Regions from separate parts of the Homo sapiens genome. Here all the other regions are linked to region 2. The links are contacts of gene promoters, found by promoter capture Hi-C in blood cells and fetal thymus (Javierre and others, 2016). All regions are on one chromosome and are shown on one strand. Each heading gives the region's core, a stretch centred on a gene start or on the middle of the fragment in contact. The rest is flanking DNA. Distances are from core to core; before and after follow the strand shown.

The links. Contacts are between HindIII fragments. The CHiCAGO score rates a contact against its expected background, and 5 or more counts as called.
Region 1: a contact is called between a fragment that was not itself captured here and the fragment with the promoter of IDNK in region 2, in 1 of 17 cell types (neutrophils). The highest score is 6.3, in neutrophils.
Region 3: a contact is called between a fragment that was not itself captured here and the fragment with the promoter of IDNK in region 2, in 12 of 17 cell types (naive CD8 T cells, non-activated CD4 T cells, total CD8 T cells and 9 more). The highest score is 14.4, in naive CD8 T cells.
Region 4: a contact is called between a fragment that was not itself captured here and the fragment with the promoter of IDNK in region 2, in 6 of 17 cell types (neutrophils, M0 macrophages, monocytes and 3 more). The highest score is 11.0, in neutrophils.
Region 5: a fragment that was not itself captured here is called in contact with the fragment with the promoter of IDNK in region 2 in 1 of 17 cell types (neutrophils); the score reaches 8.2 in neutrophils.

The regions. Positions count from the first base shown.
Region 1 is chr9:83,316,277-83,319,828 of GRCh38, forward strand. All of the region lies in intron 6 of FRMD3 (FERM domain containing 3), which reads right to left. Among named protein-coding and RNA genes, the nearest start is that of FRMD3-AS1, 99 kb to the left of the region's middle. The HindIII fragment of the contact is 2,580 bases long and covers 279-2,858 here.
Region 2 is chr9:83,621,598-83,625,083 of GRCh38, forward strand. IDNK (IDNK gluconokinase) reads left to right here and starts at 1,546. Exons shown (of 5, transcript NM_001001551.4): 1 at 1,546-1,624. The coding sequence starts at 1,575. RefSeq lists a silencer at 1,241-1,770 and enhancers at 1,951-2,080, 2,101-2,150. The HindIII fragment of the contact is 10,566 bases long and covers 165-3,486 here.
Region 3 is chr9:83,902,398-83,906,059 of GRCh38, forward strand. It overlaps KIF27 (kinesin family member 27), which reads right to left. Exons shown (of 18, transcript NM_017576.4): 4 at 663-1,621. Among named protein-coding and RNA genes, the nearest start is that of KIF27, 17 kb to the right of the region's middle. The HindIII fragment of the contact is 2,403 bases long and covers 1,014-3,416 here.
Region 4 is chr9:83,332,725-83,336,181 of GRCh38, forward strand. FRMD3 (FERM domain containing 3) reads right to left here. Exons shown (of 14, transcript NM_174938.6): 6 at 2,792-2,915. Among named protein-coding and RNA genes, the nearest start is that of FRMD3-AS1, 120 kb to the left of the region's middle. The HindIII fragment of the contact is 7,328 bases long and covers 1-3,457 here.
Region 5 is chr9:83,358,480-83,362,111 of GRCh38, forward strand. All of the region lies in intron 3 of FRMD3 (FERM domain containing 3), which reads right to left. Among named protein-coding and RNA genes, the nearest start is that of FRMD3-AS1, 140 kb to the left of the region's middle. The HindIII fragment of the contact is 1,773 bases long and covers 860-2,632 here.

The DNA of each region.
Region 1 (3,552 bases), core at 319-2,818, 310 kb before region 2:
ACCTCCGGAGTAGCTGGGATTACTGGTGCCCGCCACCACACCCAGCTAATTTTTGTTTTTAGTAGAGATGGGGTTTCGACATGTTAGCCAGGCTAGTCTTGAAGTCCTGATCTCAAGCAATCCACCTGCCTCAGCCTCCCAGAGTGCTGGGATTGCAGGCATGAGCCACTTCACCTGGCCACCTTTTTCTTTTAATAGAAAAGATCATTTTTAAAGCCATCTACAGAATACTCCTGAGGAATTAAGTCAAATTTGTGCTTTAGAAAAATAAAGTCTAAAGCTTTTCAAGATTTCCTTATTCATTTTAGTGTTCTGAAATTTCACTGTGATATATGTATATAGAGAATATCTTTATGTATTCATCCCAATCAGTACTTGTGGGCACTTTCGATCCAGCAATTACTATCTTGGGCCATTTCTTTGATTCTTTTCTTTTCAAGACACAGTCATTATAATTTTTTCCTTTTGATAAAGTAACAATGGACTCAGGAAAATTAACAACTATATTGACAGGGATGGGAAAAGAGATCTCTGGAAGGTTTTCTTAATCCATATGGTATTTCTCTCTCCATCTCTCTCATAAGTTCTTGAAGTAATATCTTACTCTCCACCAACAAATAAACCATACAGAAAATTATTGAAGTCAGGCTTGGTGCAGTGGCTCATGCCTGTTATCCCCACACTTTGGGAGGCTAAGGTGGGAGGATCACTTGAGCCCAGAAGTTCAAAACAAGCCTGGCAATGTAGCAAGGTCACTTCTAAAAAAATTTTTTTTTAAATTAGCCAGATATTGTGCACTATGATCGTGCCACTGTCCTTCAGCCTGGGTGGCAGAGCAAGAAAGATCCTGTCTTAAAAAAAAAATACAGAAAACAAACTTATTGAATTCACATATTATTGAGCCGTCTCTCATGCATACACACACACACACACACACACACACACACACACTCATTTGTATACTCATCTCACCTTCCCAACTAGGGACAAAGCAGTCAAAATACCCAGCATGTCACTAAGCAGCAACCCACTCTTCTGGCCCTCAATGCAAAACTTCACCCTAACGACCCAGACCAAGACCAAAGTGAACCAGGACCAGAGCCAAAGCAGCCCTGTGCCTCCCATAGCCTTGGGCAATCAGCTTTGCTCGGGGTGATCCTCCCAGTTTACTTGAAAGGCCCTCATTCTACCACCCACTAATAAGTACTCCTCTGATCTACAGAGCTAGCCATTCTCATTATTCATTGAACTGTCACCACCTTTCTAAAAGCTACATGTCATTTATTCATAAAACTCAAGTTTGTTTTCAAAGCATACCCTCTTCAATATAGGAACAAGATAATTGTGAAAGGTTATCATTTGGATGTTCACTTTGAAAAGTGAATAATTTTTCCTTGCCTAGGTGGTCTCTTTCTGACCACTTCCTTGTCCTTCCTAAATCTGATGAGCATCTAATTTCCAATCACAGCCAATCCCAGATGGCAGCAGGGTACCAGTGCTACACAGCCCCTGAGGACACACCCTTAAACTCTAGGACATCTGTTCATCAGGAGATACCAGCCAGGGTGGAAAAAGGCAAGCTACAGTATGGGAAAAGCTGTCAGCAACACGTACAACCAAAAAAGGACACCTATCTGGAATATTTTTTAAACTCCTGTAAATCAATAAAGAGCAACAAAATATGTTTCAAAACCAGTAACCACGACTCCAACCTCTGCACAATAAGCAAAAGACTTAATAGGCACTTACCAAATAGGACGTCTAACTAGCCAATAACTACATGAAAATGTGCTTAGCTTCTTATGATCAAGAAAATGTAAATTATTTTATTTAATTTTTAATGTCTATTTTCTATATATTTAGGAGGTACAAGTGCAGATTTCCTATGTGCATATATTCCATAGTGTTAAAGTCTGGGCTTTTAGTGCAACTATCACCCAAATAGTGAACACTGTAACCCTCACCTCCTCCCACCATCCCATATCTTGTACTTTCCAATGTCTATTACTCTCCTCTATATGCCCATGCGTCTTCATTGTTTAGTTCCAACTTATAAATGAGAACATGCAGTATTTGCCTTTTCTGTTTCTGAGTTATTTCACTAAGGATAATAGCCTCTGCTTCTATCCATGTTACTGCAAAAGACATGATCTCATTCCTTTTATGGTTCAATAGTATTCCATGCTATATATATTATATATAATATGTGTGTGTGTGTGTGTATATATATATATCACATTTTCCTTGTCCAGTTCTCCATTGATGGACACTTAGCTGATTCCATATATTTGCCATGGTGAATAGTGCTGTAATAAACATATGAGTGCCGGTATCTCTTTGATATGATGATTTATTTTCCTTTGGGTAGATATATATACACAAAGGGAAAATAGTGAGATTGCTGGATCAAATAGTAGTTCTATTTTTAGTTCTTTAAGAAATCTCCACACTGTTCCCCCAAAAAGTTGTTTTAATTTACATTCCTACCAACAGTTATAAGTGTTTTCTTTTCTCTGCATCCTTGACAACATCTGTTGTTTTTTGACTTTTTAGTAATAGTCTTTCTGACTGGTGTAAGATGGTCTCTCATTGTGGTTTTAATTTGCATTTCTCTGATGTTTAGTGATGTTGAACATTTTTTTCATGTTTCTTGGCCACTTGGATGTCTTCTTTTGAAAAATGGCCTTCAATGTTCTTTGCTCATTTTTTAAGGGGGGTTGTTTTTTTTCTTGTTGAGTTGTTTGAGTTCCATGTAAATTCCAGATATTAGCCCTTTGTCAGACCCATAGTTTGCAAGTATTTTTCCCATTCTGTAGGTTGTCTGTTTACTCTGTTAATTATTTCTTTTGCTGTGCAGAAGCTTTTTAGTTTAATTATGTCTCATTTGCCTATTTTTGTTTTGCTGCATTTTAGTTTAATTAAGTCCCATTTGCCTATTTTTGTTTTGTTGCATTTTAATTTGAGGAATTGGTCACAAATTCTTTGGTGAATGTCCAGAAGAGTTTTTCCTAGGTTTTCTTCTAGGATTTTTATAGTTCAAGGTCTTATGTTTAGGTCTTTAATCCATCTTGAGTTAATTTTTGTTTATGGTGAGATGTATGGGTCCAGTTTCACTCTTCTGCATGCAGCTATCAATTTTCCCAGGATTATTTATTTATTTATTTAAATGGAGTCTTGCTCTGTCACCCAGGCTGAAATGCAGTGGCATGATCTTGGCTCACTGCAACCTCTGCCTCCCAGGTTCAAGGGATTCTCCTGCCTCAGCCTCCTGAGTAGCTGGGATTACAGGCATGTGCCACCAGGTCCAGCTAATTTTTGTACTTTTAGTAGAGATGGGGTTTCACCATGTTGGCCATGCTGGTCTTGAACTCCTGACCTCAAGTGACCATGTGTTGTGGGAGCAACCCAGTGGGAGATGATTGAATCATGGGGTGGGTCTTTCCCTTGCTGTTCTCTTGATAGTGAATGGGTCACATGAGATCCAATGGTTTTAAAAATGAGAGTTTCTCTGCACAAGCTCTCTCTTTGCCTGCTGCCATCCATGTAAGATGT
Region 2 (3,486 bases), core at 296-2,795:
CTTGGACATGTCTGGGGAAAGAAATCCAAGGAGAAGAATCAGATTTTCTGCTAATCATTCTGATTTGAACATTGAAAGAAATATGAGCTTTTTTTTTTCATACTGAGCTAGCGAAGCAGGGCACGAGTTAAGAGTATTTGCATACACATCTATTCCTCTTATCAAGCTTGAGAATGCCTAGAGGGTAATCTTTTAAATGAATATTAATATGATATTAACCAGCACATGGTAGATGTTCAAGAAATGTGTATTGACCATAACTGAATTGTAAGACCTCTCTCCAAGCCTCAATTTCTTCACCTGTACAGCCCCCATCCAGATTGAAATCTCACCTACTCGGGCTAAGTATATGAAAAACAAAGGCAGTGCAGGGGTAATTGAACTATTCATTAGATAAATGCTTTTATGTCACTTTTATTGTTTTCTAGGACACAGAGTAATACCTACCTTGGTTAACAAAAGACCAAAGGAGGTGATGCCAAATGCGGTTAGAAGTGCTTTTAATCACTTTGGGAGGCCGAGGCGGGTGGATCATGAGGTCAGGAGATCGAGACCATCCTGGCTAACAAGGTGAAACCCCGTCTCTACTAAAAATACAAAAAAAATTAGCCGGGCGCGGTGGCGGGCGCCTGTAGTCCCAGCTACTCGGGAGGCTGAGGCAGGAGAATGGCGTGAACCCGGGAAGCGGAGCTTGCAGTGAGCCGAGATTGCGCCACTGCAGTCCGCAGTCCCACCTGGGCGACAGAGCGAGACTCCGTCTCAAAAAAAAAAAGAAGTGCTTTTAATCAAATAGTTCAAACGACACATAATTAACATTGTTTTAAAGCAAATGGACACTTTAAAGTGGTGCTCCTTCCTCTTAAAGCCCCAACCAGTGCTGGATTTAACAGCAGAGCCATACAGCCAAGACATATGCTGCTACGGTCAACACTCAACCCTAAGTTTGACACCAAAAGATGGCCGCCATTTATTATTGTGACAAAAGGCCAGATTACAAAACGCTGTGTACGGCCTGATCCCAGTTTTACAAAATACTCATACCCATCTATCTACGACGGGGCGCGGGGAAAGGGGAGTCGTTTTAGGAAGTGCTGCTTATTGCTGCCTGGTGTGGGAAATTATGAGTCTTATTTTCTGTTTATTCTTTTTACAAGAACATTTTTATAAATGAATGAATGAATGCTTTCCATGGGTGGATGAGGATCCGGCCTGCCAGGGTGAGGATCCTCTGGAACCAAGAGGGGCCGGGGCAGTAGAACGACAGGTGGCGGGGCTTTGGGCGGCTCCCTCCAGCCCAGGGAGACGCGAGTGCCAGGCCGGGCGCGCGCTTCACTTCCGGGAAGAGGAAAGAGGGAGGGGAGGGGAGAGGAAAAGAAGGGGCAGGAGAGAGAGGCCGGGAGGTTGGGAAAGGGAGGAGGAAAGCATGGAAAAGGGGCGCGGGAAAACGGGGAGGGCGCAGAGGGGCACGGCCCTCACTGCCCCGGCCGGGGCGAGAGCGGCTCCGCCCCTCGAGCGCCGGGTAGGCCGGGGCCGGCGGGGCCCGGAAGGCGACGGGAAGGAGCCGAGCTTGGGTTATGGCGGCGCCGGGCGCGCTGCTGGTGATGGGCGTGAGCGGCTCGGGGAAGTAGGTCCGGGAGAGGGCGGGGGGCGCCCGGGACAAGTGTTGCGGGCGCGGCGGAGGCCGGACGCGTCGCCGTCCCTGCCGGTGGACTGGGGTCTTGGGGACCCCCCACCCTTCCCTTTGCAGATGAAGAAACCGAGGCCCGCGGCTGCCGCGCCCTCTCCCCGCCCTCCAGCCTGCTCGCGGGGCGCCCATCCTGGGACCGCATCCGAGCTCCGGGTTCCCGCTCTAAGACGGGGAGGCTGCGGCGACCGCAGGCTCAGGGAGGAAGCCGCTCCTGAACAGGCGGCTGCGGGGCCGCGCAGGTGGAGGCCTAGCGAGCGGCGCGGGGCTAGGTTTCGGGGCGCCTTGTCGGGGCCAGGCGGGAGGGCGCACGGCCTCTAGCGAGAGGACGCAAACCACGGCCCAGGCTCTCACAGACCTTTGGCCATCTGGACACACAGCGGCCTCCTCCTATGAGGCCCTGGACTTCTCCGATTCAATTTTGGAAAGTGAATCGTTTTCCCCTTCCTTTCATCAGCTTAACCTGGAAGGAGACAGCGTTAATATGGAGGGTGGCTCCTGAGGGTTTGGAAAGAAAGAAGAGAATTGTGGAAACCACAGAGGTAGCCCAGTGTGCTAACCTGGAGACTGAGGAGTTAACATTTGGCTTCCTGTTTAAACCAAAGTCTAACTGTGCCCTTTATCAGAAAAGACAGCTGCTGTACCATTCGACCACAGGCAGCAAAGGACAGAACTTGATCAGCTAAAACATCATAACCTTCAAGGGCCTATAGGACCCTTCTAGAATTTTCTGAATCAGGAACGGCCCATGTTGTGGCCTGTGTAGTCAGGTGTATATTAAAGATTTACTCCAGGTAGATGGGTTTTGCTTTCCAAAATTATTGTAGGGTTCTCAGCCACAAAGATAAAAAGAAATCTTGAACTGCAATTGAAATAAAACATGGAGCCCCCAAATCCCTAGCTGCCATATGATTTGAATCAGTTGGAGAATGTAAAATCATTGCCATGGTGTGATGTAACAGGAGTGAAGAGCCCTAGGTCTTGGTTCTGTTGCTGTCTGGCTGTGTGAGCCTGGGCAGTTCATGTACCCCCTCTGAGTCTTGAATCAGATGAGGGAGGCCTAATCCCTATGATGTATAGCTTGTGATATTCATGTACTCAGTAATTATTGAGCTCAATCCTTACTCTATGTCATTGTCATATAGCGAACAGGACAGATAAAATCCCTGCCCTCAAAGGATTTACATTCTGGTATGGGAGACAGAGTAAATGAATATATGTAGTGTGTGAGTTGGTGATAGATGCTCTGGAGTAAGGGGAACAAAGAGTGCCAGGCAGAGTGGTCAGGGATGTCTCCTCTGGGGGAGTGGCGTTTCAGCAAAGACCTGCAAGACTTGAGGAACCTGCCATGTGGATAGCTGAGGAAAGGGCAGGACAGGCAGAGGGAATGGCAGGTGCAATGGTTCTGAGGCTTAGCTTCTTTTGTTTTTTTTTTGTTTTGTTTTGTTTGAGGCGGAGCTTCACTCCTGTTGCCCAGGCTGGAGTGCAGTGGTGCAATCTTGGCTCAATGCAACCTCCTCCTCCCGGGTTCAAGCAATTCTCCTGCCTCAGGCTCCTAAGTAGCTGGGATTATAGGCGCCCACCACCATGCACAGCTAATTTTTTGTATTTTTAGTAGAGACGGGGTTTCATCATGTTGGCGAGGCTGGTCTCAAACTCCTGACCTCAGGTGATCCATGCGTCTCAGCCTCCCAAAGTGCAGGGATTACAGGCGTGAGCCACCGCGCCCAGCTAAGGCTTGGCTTCTTTAAGGAGCAGGAAGGAACCCATTGTGGCTGAGTGAGGGGAAGCATGATGGGAGA
Region 3 (3,662 bases), core at 965-3,464, 280 kb after region 2:
TGTCCTCCACTATTCCCACGACATACAATCTTCACACAATAAACAGTTTCTGAATGAAAAGTGGGGAAATGTAAATCTGAACTCAATACACGTACATGTAACATGTATACATGTATATACCTACATTCCTTAAACATTAATAAATATGCTAATTTGTTGGTTTTTTTTAAAACCTATACTCCAAACACAAGAGATGAAGTATTTTTTTCTTTCAAGAACTACTGACCAAGAGAGGGAGAAAAACTCAGTAAAAGATAACTTAAGTTTTATTTCCGAAACAAGTTTATTTTCAGTCTCTAAATTGACAACCAGGTCCACAAAGTTCTATTTAATAAATATAACAAATTAAAATACACTTTAACCAAAGGAGAAAGGAGGAGGAGCCAAGAAGGGTATGAATTGTGAGGAGGAAGCAATAGGAAAGGGGAGGGTAGAAAGAACAAAGTAAGAGAGGCAAGTGGGATTCCATATATAAATCATTTTTTAAAAAAACCTGAAATTCCAAAATCACTCTTAGAATTTACTTGCCCAAATAAATTTAGTCCTTAAAAGAGTTATCCATAACAATGTCTAAATATGTTAACACATGTACCCCCAAAATATGTACATCTATTATGTATCAATAAAATAAATAAATAAATAAATAAGTGATGTCTAAGTACCTGGCATTTCTTAAGCTCTCTCTTCAGCTGGAGAACTGTAACATGCTGTGGTCCTTCTTCCAGACTTGCAGTGCCTCCGATTCCTCGAAATGAGGTGAGGACAGCCTTCCTGACCTCTTGGATCATGTTAAACCACTCCTGCAGTTTGTGTTGCTGCTTTTCGTTTAGTCTGACAGTATCTTTTAGGTCAACCAGGAAGGTAAAGGCTTCTTCTACACAACACTGGTAACCCAGACATTCTCCTTGAAGCTGAGCTACTTGCTCCTCAAGAGAATGAATCCTATTTGTATCAGGACTCCCTTCTCGATTGATCTGGGTAGTTTGGCTGACACCAGCCTGCTGGCTTTGCAAAGCTTCTCGAAGCAATTTAATCTCAAATTCCATTTCATCTATACGGTCTGACTCGGGGCTGAAGTTTACAGTGGGTTTGTTTCTAATGTTCCGTGCTCTGTTGGCATATTTGAGAGAATTTAAGGACTCATCAAAATTCGAGGAGGAGGGGCTGACACATGTGATCATGACAGTCTTAGCACTGCCTCCCAGAGAATCTTTCAGAAGCCGGGTAATTTTAGCATCCCTATATGGAATATGTGAACTCTTCCTGCGTGGGTCCCCAAGAGCGCTTATTACATTTCCTAAAGCCAGCAATCCACTATTGATTTGAATGGATTCTTTGAACCGTTCACCAGTATTCCCCGTTTTGGTTACTCTTTCTGATCCTGCCAAATCCACAAAGTGGAACTTTGAGACAATATGCCGAGGGGAATACCATGATCCATCTTCAGCTGCCTCCATATTTTTATGAACTTGACAAATGCTGATTGTAAAAATTGCATGTGATCTGCTGGAGTGCTCATTCATTTGAGTGGTACCTGTATGTCTGGCTGCATTCCCCATCTCCAAAAGACTCATCACTTCACCTGCACTCTCCACATGGCATTCCTTGGCCCCAACAATCACTTAAAATAGTAATAACATGTTTTTAAGCCAAGTTTTCATCAAAACCTAGTATAGTTAACAGTTACCATTTGCTAAACAGCCTGGCCAAGATAGTCCCTTTTTTAAAAAGTCAACAGCATTTCAGATAATAATAATAACATCAGCAACATCATCAAATAATTTTGGATAATCTCCCAAAGAAACTATTTTAACAGACAGCACTTATTTTGATGTTTATATTCTAAAAGCTACAATTTTTTGAAAAAACAATCTAGTTTATCTTGAGTCATGAGTCACACTCAATTCCTTAAAATGACTGACAAAAGAAAAACCCTTCATTCCAGTCTTTTGATTTGTAAAGCCTAATAGATTAATCCTTTTTTTTTTCTTGAGACGGAGTCTCGGCCTGTTGCCCAGGCTAGAGTGCAGTGTCACAATCTTGGCTCACTGCAACCTCTACCTCGGGTTCAAGTGATTCTCCTGCCTTAGCCTCCCGAGTAGTTGGGATTACAGGCATGCGCTACCACACCTGGCTAATTTTTTTGTATTTTTAGTAGAGATGGGGTTTCACCACGTTGGCCAGGCTGGTCTTGAACTCCTGACCTCAGGTGATCCACCTGCCTTGGCCTCCCAAAGTGCTGGGATAACAGGTGTGAGCCACTGCACCTGGCCTAGATTAATCTTTTATAAATTAATCAAATATATAATTCAAAAAAGTTAATCAGTAGATTAGAAGAATTAATTAGTATCAATTAAAAGGCATTCGTTTTTTTTTTCAGTTTTGTTAATAATCAAGCCATCCTTAGCTTTTATGTTTTTTGGTATCGTGAGGTCATAATCAATGAAGAGTAAAAAATTCAATACAAATAAAGTTGGTTATTCATTTTAAAAATAGGTATGGTTTATAAATAAAGTTGGTTATTCATTTTAAAAACAGGTATCTGTTTACCTTGCATCAGAGTGCAAGGTAAACAGATGAGATGGCAATTAAAAGAAAACACTTTGAACACCATAATGTACCATACTCAAAAAAGAAAAAAAAGTTTTTATTTCAATCGCAGAATGAACTAAAAATAACCTACATTTACTACCCGCATTATTTGTTTATATCCAAAAATATTTCTTTTTTTTTTTTTCTTGAGATGGAGTCTCGCTCTGTCCCCAGGCTGGAGTGCAGTGGCGCAATCTCAGCTCACTGCAAGCTCCGCCTCCCGGGTTCACACCATTCTCCTGCCTCAGCCTCCTGAGTAGCTGGGATTACAGGCGCCCACCACCACGCCTGGCTAATTTTTTGTATTTTTAGTACAGACGGGGTTTCACTGTGTTAGCTAGGATGGTCTCGATCTCCTGACCTCGTGATCCACCTGCCTCGGCCTCCCAAAGTGCTGGGATTACAGGCGTGAGCCACCGCACCCGGCCTATATCCAAAAATATTTCAAAGAGAAGTAGGTGGACTTAGGAATTGAATCAGAGAAGAAAAGCTCCTGATTTCATGCTCAAATTATATTGCCATAATTCCTCTTTACTCAGATACTGTCACATCACTATTTCTTTAAAAAATAATCATTTCAGTTTCATTATTTCCATCATGACACTTTTTAAACAACCCAGTTCATTTAAAGTCCTGTAAGTCATAGTAAAACTTTCATTAAATTTTTCCAGTGTTAGGCTATAAGTTAGCACTATGGTTCTCGAATCCAGATGCAAATCACCTGGTAGCTTTATAAAAAGAAAGTGCCAATGCCCAGGTACCATCTCAGACCAATTAAATCAGAATCCCTGTGAAGTAGGACCCAGAAATCAGTATTTTTAAAAAGCTTCCCACGTGTACTAATTGTGTGGCAGCCAGCATGGACATCACTGCTTCACACAGAGATTCTAAAGAAATATGTCAAACAAATGCACTTTACTTGTAAGTGGGACATTATGTAAGACATACTGTAATTTAAGATCATTTGTAACATCCTTCCAAAATTTTTTCAGCATTGATATCAGATATGAAGTATTTTGATCAAGTTTATCAAGAGTGATGGTGAAGTGTATATACTTCTATCCTGCTTG
Region 4 (3,457 bases), core at 148-2,647, 290 kb before region 2:
AGGAGGTTATTTATTGGGTCCCTCAAACCCCAACAAAAGCCAACTGGAATCCTCTCAGGAAGTCTTCAGAACAGCAGTTCGATGGCCACACACCATCCCTAGCTAAGTGGGAGGGTCACGGGTGTTGTGGTGACTCTGGAGAGCAGGATGGCCATGGTTTGGTGCAGCCAAGCACAGGTCTTCTCCATCCATGACTCCTTCCTGGCTTGGTCAGGTTTGCAGAGTAATTCAACCAAGGCCCAATTCCTTACACAAGACAGATAACACTTTCTTGACCTGTGTATGAAGGGGTGGTGGCACCCCCAGAGCACCTTCAGTCCCTGTAGCAGGTTTCCCAACAGACGCAAGAAAGCTCCTCTCCCTCTGCACTGTCAGCCTCTTCTGCTCTTCTTGTCTTACCCTCCAAACCAAAAGTATCTCTCTGCTGCACTGATGCTGAATGAAATACAGAACTACTTAGAATGAGCAAAAATACACAGGGAAATAGCCCCTGAAGCTGTCCTTGCAAGGTGATATGATTCCTGACAGGTTCATCCTTCAGGCATACAACTCCCAACTCTTCACAAAGGCTTAATGGATGTTTCAAATGTGCAGGACCACATGTGCCATAGAATGGCAGCTTTGATCAAACCACAGAACTTACTTCCAAGATTTATAAAGTGCGAGTGACTGATGACCCCCGTCTTCCCTGAGTGCATGATGACCACTTTCAGTGATCTCCACAAGCTCAGGTGCTGGCCCAGGGTCCAAGCTACAGCTTTCTGAATGTTAATAAAACAACTTGGAATCTTCTGTGATTCACTCATTTTCTCATGAAATTGTGGATCACCAAGTCTGGCTGCAACGCCTCTCATGACTCTCTTCTTTCAATTTCCTTTACTCCTATTCTTTTTCAGGTCCTTCCCGTTTCTTGTCTGAATACCAGAAATTACTAACTGGCCCTCCTGCCCTGGTTCTCCATCCTCAGGCACCGCTGACATGGTGATCACCGTGAAACACCTACCCGACTACCTGATTCCCTTTAAACGCTCAACAAAGGGAGAAGAGCATGGGCATACCTTGAGCCAGGTAACCCAAGGTTCAAGTCCTGACTCCACTATTTACAAAGCACAAGTCCTTTAACCACTTCAGCTTGTACTTTCCTCATCCCACACTAGAAAGAACAATAGCGCCCATCTAATAGAGTTTGGGAGAACTGAGTGGGATAATGCACTTAAAGCTCTTAGCACAATGTTTTGGCATCTAGTAAGTAAATGCTCAATAAGTGTATATTATTATCCTATGTTCTGAGCGTTAGAGGCCCTGCAAATTCAGGGCATAGAAAACCTTTCCATTCCCATCTCCTATCAATTCAAACAGTGGGTGCAACTCCTTCATCCAGGGATTCTCACCCTGTGCTCCCCGGAACACTGCTCTGCCACAAACCCCTCCACAAAAATATCGAACTTTATTTCTACCTCTAGTACATTTGTCTCCAAAATAGCAAAAGAGTAGTGAGAATTTCATGTATCTTCAACAAGGCTTTTCATTAGGAGACAATACTCTAAAATTACCCACATAGATGGCCTGTTGCTTTCTGAAAGTAGTACAATGTTTTGATGTCTAATCATCTTTATCTCTAAGACTAAGCGTCATATTTTCCCAGCTGAAATAAGCTGCCACCTTGAATGCCCTCACATATACTCTTCCCAGACTCACCAGTAGGGGGCGCGCCTGCATAAAGGAGGGAGCTAGAACAATTTCCTCACACCGGGACAGTTGTCTGTTCCAGAATGCATAATCCAATGATGCAATTTTCTTTATACTTACCAGAGGCCTAGAACATGGAAGCATCTCAGTTCTTGCAGTTTTTCATCAACACTTGTCATAACACTGCCCATGCTTGCTATTACCAAAATGATTTTTTTTTCTGTAGTTTGCACAGTATCTAAATTCTAGCTACAGACTAGACTACTTGAATTACCTAAATTCCAAGTTGGCAATGATCCCTACACACACTTCATTTGATTCCCAGCAGCCCATGTAGAGTGTAACCATCACACAGGGCATAAAGGCACAGACTCTAGACCAAGACTGCCAGAATTCAAATCCCAGCTCTGATACTTACTAGCTGCGTGACCTTGGGTAGGTTGTTTAACCTCTCTGTGCCTCGGTTCCCTCATCTGTAATATGAGAATAACAATAACCTATCTCCTAGGTTGTTGTGAAGATTAAACGAGTTAATATGTGCAAAGTGCTTAGAACAGTGTTAGGAACGTGGTGAATGCTCTATGCAATTTTGCTTCTACCACTGCTACTGTGCAGCTATCATTGAAGCATCGCAGGTGAGAAAAAGAGGATCAGACACTAAATCTGTCATCTTGAAAGTAGCTCAGCAAAGGGAATCTTCCCAATGGATTCTATTCTACTTGGAGTCAATGCTTCCAGCTATGGCCACCGGTGGGAAAAAGGCAACACAAAATTCAAATCAGAAAGGTTTACTTATTTACCTTAGATTCCACTTTCAGAAGCTCAGGGTGTTTAGAAATCCATATGTGTAAGAAAATACATGGATCTAATAACTACTGATGGATCATAAACAGCCACTCATAGGACTCCAAACTGTTGAGATTGTTATTGACGGAGGACACCAGGGTGTCCTTGACAGTGCCCAGAAAAATTGCGCTGCCACGCAAAACAGCCTATCCATACATTACAAATATTCCTCCTTCACGATGTGATTTCCACATTCCCTGCAGTAAGAATATTTTCTCCCCTTTATCATTTTCACAAATGTCTACTCAGTAATTACCTGAGTTCATTTTTATGAATTTCCACTATTTTTCTTTCCAGCTTCTGTGACTGCTTGGGGAAAATCTCAAACTCACTGATGTAATTCTCAGGATGCTCATCAGGATCGTAATCACCAAGCTCAGCTGTAATGAGTGAAAAAATAAAGAGACAGAGAAAGATTAAAAACAATAACATGAGCAGGGTGCATATGGAGTGCCTCCTGCCATCCAAAAGAAGAGGCTGGAATAAACTCACCCAAAAATATGTATCTGTACCCAGAGAAAGCCTGAGTGTCTAGAGGCTCATATTCCAGTTCAGATCGAGCTGTGTGAGCTTGGGATCTTGAGAATCTTCTCTGGGTCTCGCCTTCTTTATCAGTATAATAAAGGATTTAAATTACTGTTTTTCAGTGGGGACACCATTGGCATTTTGAGGGCTGAACAATTTTATTATTTCAGATTTTCTAAGGAACTGTAGGACATTTAGTAGCTCTACCCTTCAGGTACTAGATGCTAGCAGCAGACCCAGGCACTGTGACCATCAAAACTGCTCTCTCCCAGAAGTTAGTCAAAGAATACAGGATTTCAGTTAGATAGAAGGAATACATTCAAGAGAGCATTGTACAACATGGAGACTATAATTAGAAACAACGTATTGTATACTTAAAAATCCCTGAGAGGGTAGC
Region 5 (3,632 bases), core at 496-2,995, 260 kb before region 2:
TATTTTGACGGGAATTACACTGAATTTGTAAATTGCCTTCGGCAGTATGGTCATTTTCACAATATTGATTCCATCCATCCATGAGCATGGGATGTGTTTCCGTTTGTTTGTGTTGTCTATGATTTCTTTCAGCAGTGTTTTGTAGTTTCCCTTGTAGAGGTCTTTCACCTCCTTGGTTAGGTATATTCTTAAGTATTTATTTATTTATTTATTTATTTATTTATTTATTTATTTGTAGCTATTGTGAAAGGGATTGAGTTCTTGATTTTATTCTCAGCTTGGTCACTGTTGCCTATATTCCTGTTGTGCACATGCCATGCACAGTGATGCCAATGGATTCAACTGTGCTGCATTCAATAATGATATGGTTCGAAAGCACAAACTACCTCTGCACATATGCAAAATGACGCTTGAGCACCTAAAGGGGAGAACATTGCTCACTCATTCTCCAACTGTGACTCTAGAAATATGTGTAAATAAGCCAGCCACAGAGAGTGCAGGCTGCATTCATGACTGCTCTCTTCTACATGGAAATGATTATAATCATTAAACAACAACTGTTACTATCAGCATCATCAGCAACAGTGATGATCCTTCCCCCACTCTTACTGAAATGATAATCACTGTGTTTCCCCAGCTTCCAAAGCAGAGACAGGTTTTTAAAATCATGTTTAATTCATCTTCCTCTCGTTACAGTTCCCTCCTATGCTTTTATCACACACAGGCATGCCCACCCACACTCGTAGGCACTGACTACAGTCACTCAGAGAACTCTCTTAAGGGAGATTGGAATGCTGAGTGGTTGCCTCACAAATCCTTGGTCTCTGAATTCTCTTCCTGCCTATGCCTGCTCAGGAGAAGCTTGAAAAGAGACTTTGGGGTCCCATACTTCTAACCTCAAGTTTGTCATTTGAACAAATTGCTGCGTCCAAACTTAAAACTCCCTGCCTCCATTTCCTCATCTGTAAAATGGGAATAATAATGGAACCAACCACAGAGAGCAGGGCATCAAACTTTCTCTGTAAAGGGCTAGAGAATAAATATTTTCAACTTTGGAAGGCTCGAGTTTTCTGTCTCAACGACTCCACCCAGTTGTTGTAGTAGAGAAGCAGCCACCACCAATACATAAACAAGTGTGTATAGCTGTGCTCCAATAAAACACTGAAGTTTGAATTTGTATCATTTTTGTATGCCACAAAAATCTTATATATCTTTTGGTTTTTTTCAACCATTTAAAAATGTGAAACCTATTCCTAGACCAAAGGCCATATGAACATAGGTGGTGACTAGGTGTGGCCTGCGACCCGTCGTAGAGACCACAATGAGGATGACATGAGTTCATGACTGCGTAGAGACCACAATGAGGATGACATGAGTTCATGACTGCAAAGCACTTCGCAGCCTGCTGAGACCTGTGGACTGAATGCATAGGAATTATTGTTACTCTAAAGTGCAGGGAAGAAACCAACATGGCTAAAGTCAAGTCCTTCAATGTTACCTTGCCTTTTACCTGGGTTGAAAGAGTGAGGGGGCACTGTCATCTCTCAGGGAGGAGTGAGGAAGAAGTGGGCATGAGACAGGTGTGTATATGAAGAGATATTTGGCAGCCCTGGCATCTAAAGGACAGCTTTGCTGCCTGAGCCGAGGGTACAATGACCTAAACATTTTAGCCAAAAGGTTAGCAAGAACACATGAAACTGAAGGCAAGAGACCCAGGAACCTGTTTGCTGCTGATGTTGTATAACTAGCCAGACCCTTGGAGTCATGTTGATAGGTGTAAATCAATATGTAGAAATAACAACTGTAACAGAAAAATTCAACTACTTACATAACTTGGTATTGAGATTTGATACTATAAAGTTGCATCCAAAAATCAGGCATTATAAAGGCTCTCCCACCAAAGGGAGACATGAACAAAGCCTTCCTACCCACTTGGCCCACACTTGAACCACCTCTAGTACTCACATACCGAGCATGGAACCTCCTGCCCATCATGGTTATCATTCAGACACTCATGCTGCCAGCATGTGTAGTTTTGAGTCGTGTGGGCCCCTAAGAAAGAATGCGGGCATTCCTGAAGGAAGAAGAAAGCCCCTGAAAGTACTGCCCCAGAGATATAAGGACTTCCCCCAGGAGAGGCTCCTATTCCTTCTGCTTCCTCCACTACCCCTGTCACACTACCCCGCTTCCCACGAGGAGTGCTAGGTACTCCCTGAAACCCCTGCACACACTACTGCACCCAATCAAAATGATGTCAGTGTTGCCACCAACCATTGCATAAGCATAAAGTTAAAAATTAGAAATCTATGGCTTGTCAAGTGTGCACATCATTTAGAACTGCATGCTATAAAATTAAGGGTTTTTGTCATTACTATTGTTACTGTCCTCTCCTTCCATATTGGGAAACAAAGAAAGAGCACAACATGGAAACCATTTATAGGCTCAAATTGCATTAACTTTCTGGGAGAAGGATCAAATATAAAAATTTTGATGAACAGTTGAACTTGGTAGAATAACAGATACCTGGCCCAACCTAATGAGCTGTCTCTAGAACAAGGTAAGCAAACAGGTGTCCAACGCTGGAGACACTCCATGGCTGAAACAAAAATCATAGCTGCTCTTCTTGGAAAGAAGCTTTGGAAGAAGAAAACTGGGAAGAACAAAGGCATCCAAAACTAAACCATAGTACTTGGGGACTTTGTACTTTTTGATTTATGTAATGAGCTGTGTTCAGTTGTATGTTTTGCTTTTTTTTGTAAAAAAATAGCATTTGAACTTCCACCTGTGCTGTAAAAAGAGCATTTTAATCCTAGTCAGAAAGCATTTATTATGAATCAATAACATGCATAACATTTTATACAAAGCCATGGAACAGGTGAAGAAATTTTCCAAACCCAGTGCTGGAGATTATGATTAGACAAGTAGGTTATACGAATGAGGATGATAGCATAGGCTGCCCCTCACTCTGGAGGCAGGGTTACAGCCACAACAGGGATTGGAAGAAATGAATTGTGCAAAGCTTTACTGTCAAAAGCATGTGACCAAGGTCAGCAAAACAGAACAACATACACAAAGGGGGCTAGAGGTAGTAAGCTAAAGAAAGAGGCTAAAGAAAAATGCTGAGAGTACTGGAGATCTAAAAAACCCATGTCCACCTAGAACCTCAGAATGGAACCCTATTTGGAAATAGGGTCTTTGTAGATGTAATTGATTAATTAATTACAATGCATTCATATTAGGTTAGGGTGGTCCCTAAATCCATTGACTGATATCTTTATAAGAGAAAGGAGAGTGAGACTTTGACACAGGGCACAGAGAAACATAGGGAGGCACCATGTGAAGATGGAGGCAGAGTGTGGAGTGAGGCAGCTACAAGCCAAGGAAGGCCAAGGACTGCAGGAAACCAGCAGAAGCCAGAAAAGGCAGGAAGCATTCTTCCCTAGAGCCTTCGGAGGGAGCATGGCCCTGCTGACAACTTGGTTTCAGACTTCTGGCCTCCAGAACTGTGAGCAAGTAGATTTCTATTGTTTTAAGCCACCCAGTATGTGATAATTTATTATGGATGCCCAGAGAAACTAACACACTCAGCAAGGGGAAAACTGGAAGAACAAGTAGAGTTGAGAGTCAATCAT